Regions from separate parts of the Homo sapiens genome. Here region 1 is linked to region 2. The links are contacts of gene promoters, found by promoter capture Hi-C in blood cells and fetal thymus (Javierre and others, 2016). All regions are on one chromosome and are shown on one strand. Each heading gives the region's core, a stretch centred on a gene start or on the middle of the fragment in contact. The rest is flanking DNA. Distances are from core to core; before and after follow the strand shown.

Region 1 (7,695 bases), core at 3,025-5,524, 880 kb before region 2:
CTGGTTCAACTCAATCCATTTTAACAGTTGGCAGTTTAAATAACAGAAGTTACAGGCTGCCATGCACAGACGCTTTGCATGCCATATGAAAGCAAAGGATTCAGAGATGGAAGCAAAAACGGAAAGATGAAAAAAAAAACCAGCCTCTATTCTATAAAAGAATTTCTTTAATAACAGCAGCTAGGTAAAATTTCTTTGAGCTTGTGTCCTTCTCCTACTGTTTTATATAAAGCAGCTACCATACTTGTCTTCCTAGGCTACATCTGACAGACTGTCAAAAGCAAACAACTTTTCCCCTTATATTGCAATAATCATCTACTGTATTTTTAATGTACTCAAAACAAATTTTCTTATTATACAATAACGGTGACAATCCTCCCTATATTCCCAATGTAAAATGATATATTTTAAAGACGATAATCATAAAAGCAGCCTATCCATAACTACTATTTTTAGGTTAAATAAAATATCAACATTTTTTATTCATGTTTAGGTTAATGTGTGCAATTCAGCTGTTTGCAATATTTACATGGAATTGAATATATTATGAGAAAACTTGAAAAAAGCAAAAGAGCCAAGTTTAAGACTGGTTCTTTCTTGGGTGGCTTTTTATCCTTACTGGCCACCTATTATTACCTTCATCATATAACATTAAAGAAAAAACAGAGACTTGGTGCTAGCTGGAGGATCCCATTATTACCAATGTCTCTGTGCCCACCAACTGTGACTTACTCGGTTTTGAACGTGCACTATATTATCATTTAGAATCAAAGTATGTATATTTTTATAAAATGTGCTGTGGTTACAAGGATTAATAGATACAACATAATTCATAATCTGAATTCTGACACATTCAGATTATAAATTGATTAGTACAGAGGAAGAGGAGGGATTAGGTTCTGTCCTTGCATTTTGATCTACATAAGCTAATTAAATATAACCTTGTACATATAAACTAACTTTGGTAGCAATGGCAATGTCTGTATCATTAAAGGCCAATGATAAGTACATCTTCTGTAGGCCAAATCTAAGGGTTTTCTCTTAGGAGAAATAGCTCAGAAATAATTAATATATAAGAAAATACATAAAGTGCCTTCCTGTTGAACAGTGAGAAACAACTCTACTCCTCCTTGGCTTCCCCCATTTTAGATTCCCTGGCTTTAAAGCACACTAGAGAGGAGATTAACTGATATTTTGCATCAAATGACTACCTTCCCTAAGTATCTCCAGCTTCTACAGCATTTTTTAATGCACTATCACATTATGCATTCTGAGATTTGGTACAGTTTGTTCTCTCTTTGTCTATCATTTACAAGAGAGTGAAAGCTAGTCACAATTCATCATAAACCTGAAGACTGATTATCCCCACACTTTTTCTTTTCTTGGACTAAATATTTCCAAATTCATTCATCTCTCATCATAGAGTCAAGCAGAAAGGAGTTTAGATACCACAGCAGTTCTCAATTCATGCACATTAATATAGTGTTTTAAAATATATATATAAAACATATTTATACAAAGACCAGAGAAGAACTGAACACTATACATACATATATATATGTGTGTGTGTGTATATATACATATACACATATGGCCTTCTAATCATAAGGCCTTCTAGTATATCTATCTATCTATCTATCTATCTATCTATCTATCTTCTAATATATATATATATATATATATATATATATATATATATATATATATATTAGAAGGCCTTATGAACTTGTATAATAGTTTGAGGATAATCAATGGAACATAGAATTTTAGAGCTGACAGGAAATTTATGAATTATTTAATTGAAATCCAACCCTTCATTTTAATAGACGATGACACTAAGTTCCAGAGAACAGATTTAACTTGTCATAAATAGTCTACACAACAAAGATATGAAACTGAGAGGCTTCAGTCAGAGAATGGGACATAACGTAATGAACCACATAACCATAATTATTCTATCATTCATTTATTGGATAATAATATAATTAAGCTTTGATAAATTATATATTTATGAAGAAAGATAGCAATAGCATGACAGACCATGATCATCTGGTGATCCCATATAATAATCACTCTATAGAAGTAATTAGAGAATAGCAGTAAGTTTGAAACTTTTGTAATTTTATAATAATACAACATTCAGGAATTCAGTTATTTGGTAAGGAAAAGTTCACCGGATCCTATAATCTGCATTTTGATGGGCCTGAACCATATTTATATCACGCACTATCCACAAAGTCCTTAAGTACACATTTATACAAAGACCAGAGAAGAACTGAACGCAATTATGTGGACTAGCACCTTGGAGAGATGAACTTTGGGATGGATGGATGGATAGCTATGGCTATGCATATACACACATGCATATATATTTACATGTAGGTACAGACATATATGTTCGATGTTTGATACCACATCTTTATTAAAAGGTATAAGACATAGTTAAGATTGAAAAGTGAAAATCTCTTCTGATAAATGCAAGTTAGAAAATCCATCTATACTGCCCTCTCTGGTAACTTCATCATGGTCCACATTGTTGATAGAAGCTCAAAGCTGCTGATATCATGTTAATGTTCACTGTCATTGCTTTTGTCAATCTTTGTCCTTACCTTAATTTTATTTATATATGGTATGTGTTTTAGCATTCCAGACACTGTCTGCAGGGTTTTACAGTGAGCTGGGTATTTTAATTTAGGTTGATTGGTAATAAAATATCATTCAAAGCCAACTGTCAGGTGAACAAGTTAAATGAAAGCTCTGTCGCATAAAGTCTCTGTTTCCAATTATTCTCTGGAATTTAAATGAGCAAAACGTCATCAACAGAGGTCTTTAGAACTCGAAGAGAAAGCAATACTTTTTTGCATCTATTCTTTATGCCACCTACTTTTAGGGATCTCTTTGCTATAAAATACCATTCACTTCACTGATTTCAACTCTATAATTCTTTTGCTGAACAATTATCTCCTCATCTAGCTTTCTTACTCATGCAAGCCACAAACATAGTGTGACTAGAGTAAAAGGAGATAAATGTTTTTGCATACATGGGTTATAGAAAGAAATCACATTATGGCCACATTTCCCATTTCTAGGAAATTTCCTTTCTCCTCCCAGATGTTCTCCTTTCCTTTTGTTACACAAGACAGTTTTCAAGTTAATCTTTCTAGAGATTCATACCAGCAGCTATTTTGCCCCCACCTTAAAATATTGGTTATCATGTGGTGCACATTTCCAATATCAATATTTAAGGAGTCATACAGAAGCTAGTATTGTGGTCATCCCAATTCAGTATTCATAATGTTAAGTGATGAGTTAGAAAACTTTCTCAGAGTTAATATCTTATTGTACCAACCACCCCTTGATGCTTCTTCCATTTTACACTCCTTCTATTTTGTTATTTATGATTTTCCAAAAACTGTCCTTGTTTGTGTTATCTGACATGTCATGATACATTACATTCCCAGTGTTATTGGTCAGCATGCCAATAACATGCTCCCCTTTAAATAAACCCTCAAACGGTTTTATCAGCTCCTAACTTTTATTTAATTGAAATTATTAAAGTAGTAGAAAATCTTGCTTCATGTTTGGATTCTACTCAAATTGTTTGTATAATTTTGAATTGCTTTGTATCAAAATTTCCAACCACTCTTTTTTTTTTTTTTTTTTTTTTTTGAGATGGAGTCTCGTTCTGTCGCCCAGGCTGGCATGCAATGGCGCAATCTCCACTCATTGCAACCTCCGCCTCCCAGGTTCAAGCGATTCTCCTGCCTCAGCCTCCTGAGTAGCTGGGATTACAGGCACGCACCACCATGCCCGGCTAATTTTTGTACTTTTTAGTAGAGATGGGGTTTCACCATGTTGGTCACGCTTGTCTCGAACTCCCAACCTCAGGTGATCTGCCCACCTCGGCCTCCCTCCAACCACTCTTATAAATAAATTTTATAGCAACAATATACAGTTTTTTAAATGAGGAAAAAAGCAACACACTTGTCTTTTTAAAAAGATCTTCCTTAAAAATATGCTGCTTCCTACAAATTTATTTTATATGTTTAAAACTATACTATTCTCTATAACACACTGAGACTAGCCACTTAAAAGGCACAATGGAACAAGGGAAGGACCACTGTCCTGGGCTCGGAAGAGGACTGCCTGCTGAACTGATGCTTAGTTTTGTCACATCAGAATAGGGATAATAGTTCAGACTTCAGATGGTTACTACCAAGATCAAGTGAAGTCCCCTTTGTAGAGTACCAGGCAAAGATCTGTGGTACATAGTAGATCTTCAGTTCATTCAGCATATTAGCTGCATATAAATCTGAATCTTAGCTGCCTGGACTTAATAAACACATCTCAATGTACCAACTATTAACTGACAGGTAAAGGTCAAGAAAGAGCTATTGAGTAGCTATTGAAAGGTAGGGAGGCAGAATAAATAAGGCAATCACAGGCTTAAACTTTCTGTATTCATTTAGTGGAGACAAAGAATTCAGGTTGTGCAAGGATTTAAAATGCAGATTGTCAGGATTTATAAGGAAAAGATTTATTCTTTTCTCATTACTATAATAAACAGTGATCAAAAAATGCTTCATCAGACTTACAGTAGATAAAGAAGGGAAGTACAACTTCAATTAAGTCCTTGATTTATAGATAATGTTGCAACATCACAAACAATGAACATCATATTCTACCACAATCTATTTACCAAGATGTGTGTAGTTATTATGTGTTTTAGGGGTGTGATGGGGAGTCATTTTTCATTGTATTCTTTTCAAATTAGTATGCATTTAAATCACTGTTACAGAGAGAAAATTCAAATCAACATTAAACTTACATTCTTTCAAATCCTCTTTCAATAGATGTCAACATACACACATTATTATAGATATAATCAGCGTTTATATACTCTTTTGTGATCTAATTCTTTCACTTAACATTGTTTTATGTATACATTTCCATGAATTGTCACCTAACGGCACCACCTTGAAATTGTACCTGTTTCTCTACAGCTTCTCCAACACCTCACTTAGTGCTTAGCCATCACAATACATATATGTCGCTACCTGTTACTTTGTTGTTGTATTTCTTTACTTGCCAGTGAAAAATGTGTTTTTCCATGTGATGATTTACTATGTAAAATTTTTTACATGTAACATTTCTCTCTTCACCTCTTTCTTTTCCCTATGTGAAACGTGTGCAGGCCCTTCAAACACATTCTGCCTGATATAAACATAATTAAATTTGTTGACAAATTTGCTGTCAGTTGTTGAGGACAAGGGCTGCAACTCACAGCTTTCTCTCTGCAAATGCTTTCCACAAAGTATTCCATGCATTGTTCTGGAATTGGATATTCTCTAAGGTCCAAAAATTCCTATAATGGCAGGAACTTCACCTTCTATGTGTTTGGATCATCCTGGCATTTAATACATATATACGATGAATAAAAATAAGAAACTTGCATGATTTTAAAGTCATATAATTGGATAAATATTTCAAGAAAATCTCTATTCCTATCCTCACAAATATAAAGCATACCTTCCCGTTGCTCCCTACAAGTTATCTCGCAGAAAAAAAGAGGAAGATGTCTTACATTCAAGTGCTTAATTCCAAGGGACATTTTCCAAATTATTCTTAATAATGTACTCTCTGGAAAACACGCATTAGTCTGGAACAACTTAATATGGGTTTTAGATGCTTATGATGTAAACGTACAAAATTGGGGAAGGCAGTTAAGATAATGAAATTTAACACAGACCTATTAATTGTTTACAGGGTGTGACGTCATAGTACTAAGTGTTGGAGATCATTGTAAACAAGCCTTTGAAAGATTACTTAAGATTTCCCTGCAGTAAATACCTAACGAAGATCACCAATATACACATGCAAGATGAATGGAAAAGCCAATGGACCTAGTGGTATGCAAATGAGTATTTGTGGCTTGCGGAAAAAGCCTGACATTGATACTCTGATACACAGATTAAAGTGTTGTATCTCTAAAAACTTAGGTGGACATGAATGTAATATGCTCTGGAAAACTGTTAGATGACACAAAAATTAGCTCCAGTGCTTCTAGAAACACCAATGTCAGAGATACGCGTGAAGTTTCAATAGAATTGTTTTACAAAATGAGATAGTGGGGAGGAAAAGCAAAGTATCATACCTGAAGAGATTATTCTGCATCATCTACAATTTGAATATATCTGTATAACTAAACAAATTAAATTTCATAACTACACATTTCACTGTTTCGTCTACATTTCTAAAAGTCCAGCTACACTCAAAATGGTCATAAAACTTTTTTAAAGTTTTATTAGGAAAATGTGGGCTCACCTTATCCACCATATTTATTACAACTTTTTGAATCCAGGGTTGTATAAATAGCTCACTTAGCTCACAACAATAGTAAGAGCTGCTGTTTACTTAGCATTTAGTGGATACCATGCACTGTGTTAAGTGACTTGCATATATTGCGTCAATCATTCTTAAAAGGATCCCGTATGATAGGTATTATAAAACCATTTTACAAATGAGAAGAGTAAGCCTCCAAGAAATTAAAAAGCTTGCATAAGATCATGTAGTTAATAAGTGGTGGACATCTGTGGAGTTTCAAAGTCCGTAAGCTGACCCCCATACCAGATGGCATCCACAAGCACTAAGCCTGGATTTCTAGGTCCATGACTTTGACAGGAAGGTACTTTGTGTAAATGCAGGTGGAGTCCAAAGTAGGACAAGAACAAGAAGCTTTGCAAACCATTACCAGTATTACTATCTTCAATACTAATCCTTTTAATACTTTAAAAATATTTTTAAAACTAAAGCCATGAAGAATACCAAATTCATGATCAATTTAGCCTTGTGATTCTATTTTTGGTGGGAGTCACCAAGGGATGCTTTGTAGAAAGGATGGCTTTTCCTCCTTGGTTTCTCTTACAAAGCAACCATGTATCTATAGTGCATGAGTTGACCTGAATCACTTCACTTTTTAAACATGCTATTTCTTTAGAACTTCCAGGATAAGTTGTTCTGTGAGTCATGTATGGTACTTCCCTTTCCCCATTTGTTTCTGCAATGCTTCAAAGATACCCTTTACTATGGTTTGAGTGTTTGTAGTCCTCTAAAATTTATGTTGAAACTTAATTCTTACTGTAGCTGTATTAAGAGGTGGGACCTTTGGAGAAGTGATTAAGTCATAAGGGTTCTATCCTCATGAATGGGATTAATGCCCTTACAAAAGAGGCCTTAGAGAGCTCCCTGGCCCTTCTACTCCTTCTGCTATGCGAGAACACAGCGTTTGTCCATTTCACAATGTGAGGATACAGCAAGAAGTGTCATCTTGGAAGCAGAGAGCAAACACTCATCAGACATTAAATCTGACAGCACCTTGATCCTGGACTTCCCAGCCTCTAGAAATGTAAGCAATAAATTTCTGTCGTTTACAAATTACCCAGTCTCAGGTAGAGCAGCCTGAACAGATTAAGGTTTCAACATGCTTGGGTTTGGTAAATAGGTTTGCATTTATCCTATCCAAATGTTTATGATTTCTTGATTTCAAAAACACTGAGCATAGCCTCTGCATCCTTACACTGTAGAATGGATGAACATTGTGTCCTCACATGGCAAAAGGAGTGGAAGGGCCAGGCAGCTCTTTGAAGCTTCTCACTCAACTATTATATTTTCCAAGAGAAGAGCACTAATTGTTTT
Region 2 (6,975 bases), core at 4,025-6,524:
AAGCTGGGGGTAGAAGAGTTCTCACAGCCCTGAAGAAGTTTACTGAGTTTCAAAATTGGAGAAAAGACAAAGAGGAATGTATGGATAGGTTCAATTGATGGAGTACATATACTTTAAAAAAAAAAAAGGCACATACAAATAAACATTTTTTTAAAAAGCCTCTTTTCACCAATTTACACTCTCAAAATACCTGGTATATAGGGGAAAAAAATCCCCAGCTAATAATTATTTACTGAATAGTTTTGCACCCAAGCACCGGCCTGCCAGGTTTTCAAGAATAGACATAAAATGGGACCCATTCCCAGAGGCAGTTTAAAATATTTGCAGAGACAAGATCAGCATGTAACATTCAGACTCATGACAGTTATTGAGTCCAGAAGAAGGAAAGCCCTCACTAAACTGAAGTAATCGGTGTTTAATGGAAGAGTGAGAGAATATTGAGACATGAGCTGGGCTGTGAAAGGGGGTGAAAGTTATAAAAGAGAAAGGGGTGGCCATTTCAGATTTGGTGGGGATGTTCAGGGTGTGTGGTACTAAGGAGAGGCAAGGGAGGTGGCAGAAGGAAACTGAGGTGCAGAGAAAAACACCTAGTAAATGGATGAGCTGGTAAATGAATGAATGGATAAGCTGCAACTGGAATCCAGGTCTCCAAATATCAAAAACTCTTTTATGCTACTCTGCTCCTTCTAAATGGTCTTCCTGCCTCCATTCTAGCATGCTTTTCCAAGAAATTCTCCAAAGTACTTTTTTTTCTGAAACCCAAATCTGATCAGGTCATTCTCCGCCTTAATCTCTTTAATGGGTTACCCCTACTTTCAGAAAGAAGTTGAAACTCTAACATGGCATACAAGATCCATCATGATCCGGACCCCGTCTCTTTTCTAGCAAGTCTACCATGTGTACCCTTTGTTTCAGCCATATTCATCTAAGTGAACTTTCTTTATTGGATATGCTCCCTTATCTGTTTACCTTTGTATATGTTGTTTTTTCAACCTAGAATGCCTTTCCCTCACCTATTTTCTTCAGCCTTCAGCTGCAAATGTCACCTACTGCGATAAGCCTTTTCTTACTCAAGCATGCAATTCTACGTAGATGCCTCTCCATGACCACCCCCAACCATGCATATTCCTATAGCAACTTATCACACTGCTTTTTTTTTTTTCCTTAAAGAGATGGGTTCTCTGTCGCCAAGGCTGTAATACAGTGGTATAGTCACAGCTCACTGCAGCTTCAAACTCCTGAGCTCAAGAAATCCTCCTGCCTTAGCAGCCTGTGTAGCTGGGATTATAGGCACAAGCTACCACGTCTGGCTCACATTGCATTTTAAGCATTAATTAACTTCCCTGTCTGTCTCAGTAGACTACAAGTATCTTTGTATCACCAACCCTTAGAATTATGCCTAGCACACAGTAGGTACTCAGTAAACCTGTATTGCATAAATGAAATCATTGTTGCTCATACCTTATCATTAAAAATCAAGACTGGGTGCAGTGGCTCAAGCCTGTAATCCTAGCACTTTGGGAGGTGGAGGTGGGTGGATCACTTGAGGTCAAGAATTCAAGACCAGCCTGGCCAATATGGTGAAACCCCGTCTCTACAAAAATACAAAAAAGATTAGCTGGGCCTGGTGGTGCACACCTGTAATCCCAGCTGCTAGGGAGGCTGAGGCAGGAGAATCGCTTGCACCCAGGAGGCAGAGGTTGCAGTGGGCCGAGATCACACCACTGCACTCCAGCCTGGGCAACAGAGCGAGACTCCGTCTCAAAATAAATAAATAAATAAAAACATAATTTATCCAGTTGTAAACAAATAACCAAATAGGAAGTTACATAATAACCAGAAAAATTAACTAATTTGACTTTACTGTTTGAAGAACCAAAGGCTTCAGAAATTATGCAGGAACACAAAGTCAAAAATGCAAAAACATCAAATACTGTTAGGTCACTCTACACTACCGTGTGGTGTGGGGTGCGGTGTTCTGCATCAACATTGGCCTCTCTTAATGGTTAAGTCACTGCCTTAAATAAGTAGGATTCAAGATGTAGTTCCTTCACAACATTTATAGAGCTTTCTCTTCTACTCAATTTAACAAAATGCATTCCATGGTTGACATCAAATTACAAATTAATCTAAGATTCATGCTGTTTGATGACATGTTGCAATCTGGGCCTAACCAAAATAGTTACATAAAATCCAAAACTCTACTACTAATGCATTATTCAAAATGTGATGAGTCCAAGACAGGAATGCCTTATTTTAAAAGAATCAAAACAAAAGGGTCATTATGAGGATGCTTATATGAAAAAAACTGAAGTGAATTCCATTAAATTTTTATTTAAGTAATCTTAAATAGAAATCATTATAGTGTTGAAATGCCACTCTGAAAAATTTCTCACTAATACTCATTAAAAAGTTGAGGATATAAATGAAAGCAGTTCCTCTCTATAGAAAATCTGCTTTCCAGGCTGACCAACATGGTGAAATCCCGTCTCTACTAAAAATACAAAAATTAGCTGGGTGTGGTGGCACGTGCCTGTAATCCCAGCTACTCAGGAGGCTGAGGCAGGAGAATCACTTGAACCCGGGAGGCAGAGGTTGCAGTGAGCCAAGATCGCGCCACTGGACTCCAGCCATGGCAACAGAGCGAGACTTCGTCCCAAAAAAAAAAAAAGAAAAGAAAATATGTGTTCCATTTCCATTTTTCCAGAATTCTGAGGAACTAAATGAAAACAACCAAACTACACAAGCCTTATACCTTATGAATCCATTATACTGGAGCGACTGAATTAATTTTCCTCTGTAGCGGAAATTTTAATCTATGTAGACATTGAGTAGTTAACTTCTTTTTTACCACTAGAAGAATTCGTTTCAATATCAATCACCTGTGTGGTCAATGCCATTTCCCCTTCTTCCCTACTCAGTAACTTAGAGTGGAATCAACTATTCTTTCCTTTACTTTCTATCTTTTGTAATGCCATAGTTCTTACTCTTCTATAGGTAATGGATGCCTTTGAAAAACTGATGAAAGCCATGGGGCCCAGAAAAATAAATGTACCCATATACACTCAAATATTTTCATACAATTTCAGGAGTTTAAGAACCCCTATGCCCCAAGATCACCTACACAAATAATTTCTATCACCATATGGCTCTCTTTTATAATCCCATACCACAACTCCTTTACACTCATATACACACACAAATTAAGGACTAGTTCAGAGATTATTAACATAATACTCAAAATAAAAAAATTTCATCTAAGTAAAGTTGTATCTTACTAGCAAACTTCTAAGAATCCCAGATGAATTCTTTCCTGAAAAGCTTACTAAATCTTACTGTTTGGTCAACTTGCTTGCCTTAAAATGTGCCACAATGTCTTCCTAAATTTGTTTTTGTTAACTCTGACACATCTGCTTGTAAAATCACGTAAGGCTCAAAAGTTATGTTTGAGCAAAAAAAGAAAATTCATGTTAATATTAACAAACTCTTGGATTCAAATCTTGTTCTACCGTATCAAGCTATGTTCAACACGGAACAGTGAAGTTAGCTAGGAACCGGAACAGTGAAGTTAGCTAGGAACTGAAAATGATACGATCTCATAACTATCTAGTTACCTTGTCAAAGCAAGTAAAACATAAAAGATGAATCAGGACAAATGGCTAAAGGGAAGAGAAGAATATAATCAAGGTGTTACTACTAACAGAGATAAGTGTTTTTTTTTTTCTCGAAAGCATACTTCTTAAAAGTGGCAGATTCTTGCTAGACGTACCAAACCATTTGTGGAAACTATCAGTTAACTTTTTACTTAAATTTTTAATCACTGATTAAACCACAGTTTTGTACTGGATCCAAACCAAATGGCCAGATGCCATAAGAAACGGCTTTATTTATATGTCACCCTCTCCTTGTCTATTATAATCAAGTTGGTAGTTAAAGCTGAAATCTATACATTCAACATGTGGCTTGTGCTTCGGATCTGGACTAAGAATACAGCTCTAAGGAGTATCTGCTGAATTTGTACAGGAAAACCCTTTCCCCTCACACCACCCAAATTAGAAAGTTTACAAAAAGCGGAACCCTTCTGATGAGCTGAGGAAACTCCAGTATTTCCCAATGCAATACCAGGCCTCATCGATTTCATTCCTCTGCACATTCAGTGGCAGGAAATGGACTGCTACCATCGGTTCACACTATCAGCACGGTGAGATTTGCACAGTTTGTGCCTACTGCTTTTGAGCGTTCTTAATCAACTAAGTGGAAGTACTGTATGACTATGCCTATTACACACACTCGACAGTTGGTGGTACCTCACCCAGCCTCAAACTCCCACGCGCCCCCACCCTTCCAAAGAAACATTTCTTGGGAGAGCACATGGAGAGAGGCAAGGAGGAGGAAAAAGGCACGTAGGCGCCTCTTCCTGAGATTTCTGGTAAAGTAGAAAGACTGGGAGCATAAATAGTGTTCTTCTTGATTTGCGAAGCTGTAGGTGGGCTCCCAAGGACTTGGAATAAAAAGGAGGGAGGTTCCCCTGCCCCGGACCCTACGCGTTAGGAGGCAAAACAGCAACTAACAAGAAGTGGGAGGAGAATGGAATCGCGCAAAGGTTTGCGCCCACAAGTTAGACAAACAACAGCCCTACCCAGTACTCGGGGTGTCCCCAAGTTGGGGCTGGGCCTTTCTCCTTCCCGCACCGCCTCCCGGGCTGACAAGAGTGAGAAAGGGGTTAAGTAGAGAAGGGGGTGCTCTTCCGCCCCCACGCCGTCTCCGCGCCTCGGCGTGGCCACTCCTTTAGCGGCTCCCCGAGTTGCACAGCGAGGTCGCGGTCATCCTTGGGAGGGGGCCCCGGGTGCCCCCGTGTTCAATGGCAGGAGGATCCCGGGGCTCTCCCTGTCCCTAAGGCCGGCGGGGGCTGCGGGAGCACTCACCAATTTGGGTTTGTTTTTCGTTTCCTCTTCATTGGCGGCCCGGTTCCCCGCGCTCCGCTTGTTGCTCCGGCCCCCACCGGGTTCCTCGCTGCCGCCTCCCGCTCCCGACGCCGCCGCCCCGGGCTGCTCCATCTTTCTCCGGCCCTGTCACCTGTGCCCTGTAACCCCACCTCTCCTCAACTGAGAAAGCACCTCGGGGCGCTCACACTGCCCCGCGCTGACTCGGCGGCACCTCTTCCTGAGGGAGAGAGTGTCTGCCCGGGAAGCTGCCGATTTCAGGCCCCCGGGACTCCAGGCTCCCAGGCACCCCCGACGCAACCACGCCGTTGCCACTACTCGGCGCTGGGGCAAGCCCTGCCCCTGAGCAGTTGCAATTACCACGGTCGCCGCCGCCCTCAGGGCGGTGTTTAGGGTGGAGGGAAAAGTAGGTGCCTATCTCTTTAAGAGGGCCTCAACACACGTGATTCTTCAAAGTGCCCGCATCGGCCGCCCGGGCGCGCAAAGCTGCTTCCTACTCCCGCAGCCGAGCCGGCCCCAGCTACTGAGCATGCCCGGCGCGGTGACTGGAGCCTAACAGAGCACTTTCAGCTGCGGTTAGGCACTGATTTCACTTCCTAGTGGCCCAGCGAGAACAGGGAGGGAACTAGTCAAGAGAAAGGAAGGGTAGCCCATTTTAGAGATGGGGAAACTGAGGCCCGGGAAGATCCGCCTGTAAGTTTCACTGGCGGGTCAACCTGAGTATCAGCTTTCACTTCTGTGGGCCACAGCACCTTCCCTCCCTGAGGCCTCTCCGGGGGTGTGGTCCTGCTACAGTCTGTGGAAAGACTTGATTGGCAAGGGAACTGGCATCCTATAGGAAAACCACCGGGAGTGCTGATTAATTGCCTCGACAGACTGTGTGTGGGTCAGAGTGGAAAGAGTGAGTGCTTTCTGTTGTCGTGATTACGTTGTGACCGAAGAAATACAGTTGTTCCTTTATTCCCTTGCTGCAGGGTTGTTGAAGCAGCAGGCGCCCACCGCTTAATCCCTAGGGGATTGTTAGGTTCTATAACCAAAACACTTACATACAGCTAGCAATTGAATTGAGTGCTATTTTCAGGTTCCCGAACTAGTTTAGAGTTGTTGTGGGGAGTGAATAAGATCATGTGTGTCAAAGCTTTGTTGTAAATGAAAATCCCTAGACAAATGCTAGGTGTTTTTGTGCAGCAGCAGGGCACTGTTGGGACGATAGTCTTAAGTCCTTGCGTCATACCTAGCATTTTGTCCTCAGGACAAAATATAGTACCCACACTGTATTTCTTCCATCCTCTTTAAATGATGCCCTTTAAAAGTAAAGGTACACACTGAGAACATTAGACGGGGTGGGTAGGATTTGAATGAACCACCATCATAGAATAGGAGCACATATGCTAGGAAAGCTACCTATAAAGTAAATTTAAATATGAAATCTATAAACATGCCATACACCTATTACTGAAGATATCTCCAGACTATGACTCCTTTTGACCTTCTCCCCTTCGGCCTAAATTTAATATGCTGAATGGAATTTGTATCTGAACATATTTATTGAGAGTGCATTAGGATGCATTTGACCATGCTATAGGTGCAAGGAGACAGCTAACTTGGGCAGTAGAATGAAAAGAACACCAGATATCTGAAAACAGCTTTAATTCTAGCTTTGTCATTGTCATTAACTTTCTTTTTTTTTTAATTCTGAGACAGAGTTTCCCTCTTGTTGCCCAGGCTGGAGTGCAAAGGTGCAATCTCAGCTCACCGCAATCTCCACCTCCCGGGTTCAAGCGATTCTCCTGCCTCAGCCTCCCAAGTAGCTGGGATTACAGGGACCCACCACCACGCCCAGCTAATTCTGCATTTTTAGTAGAGATGGGGTTTCTCCGTGTTGGTCAGGCTGCTCTCAAACTCCTGAGCTTAGGTGATCCGCCTGCCTTGGCCTCCCAAAGAGCTGGGATTACAGGCGTGAGCCACCGTGCCCGGCTGACTTTCTTTTTAATCATGGAGGTGTGACTTCTCTACTCCTAAGGTGGCAAGC

The links. Contacts are between HindIII fragments. The CHiCAGO score rates a contact against its expected background, and 5 or more counts as called.
Region 1: a fragment that was not itself captured here is called in contact with the fragment with the promoter of DIAPH2 in region 2 in 1 of 17 cell types (total B cells); the score reaches 7.1 in total B cells.

The regions. Positions count from the first base shown.
Region 1 is chrX:97,564,090-97,571,784 of GRCh38, reverse strand. The region is part of intron 26 of DIAPH2 (diaphanous related formin 2); the gene reads right to left. DIAPH2-AS1 (DIAPH2 antisense RNA 1) reads left to right here and starts at 7,250. Exons shown (of 3, transcript NR_125391.1): 1 at 7,250-7,405. The HindIII fragment of the contact is 4,563 bases long and covers 1,993-6,555 here.
Region 2 is chrX:96,683,141-96,690,115 of GRCh38, reverse strand. It overlaps DIAPH2 (diaphanous related formin 2), which reads right to left and starts at 5,274. Exons shown (of 27, transcript NM_006729.5): 1 at 4,926-5,274. The coding sequence starts at 5,057. RefSeq lists enhancers at 4,057-4,770, 4,771-5,486. The HindIII fragment of the contact is 2,760 bases long and covers 3,324-6,083 here.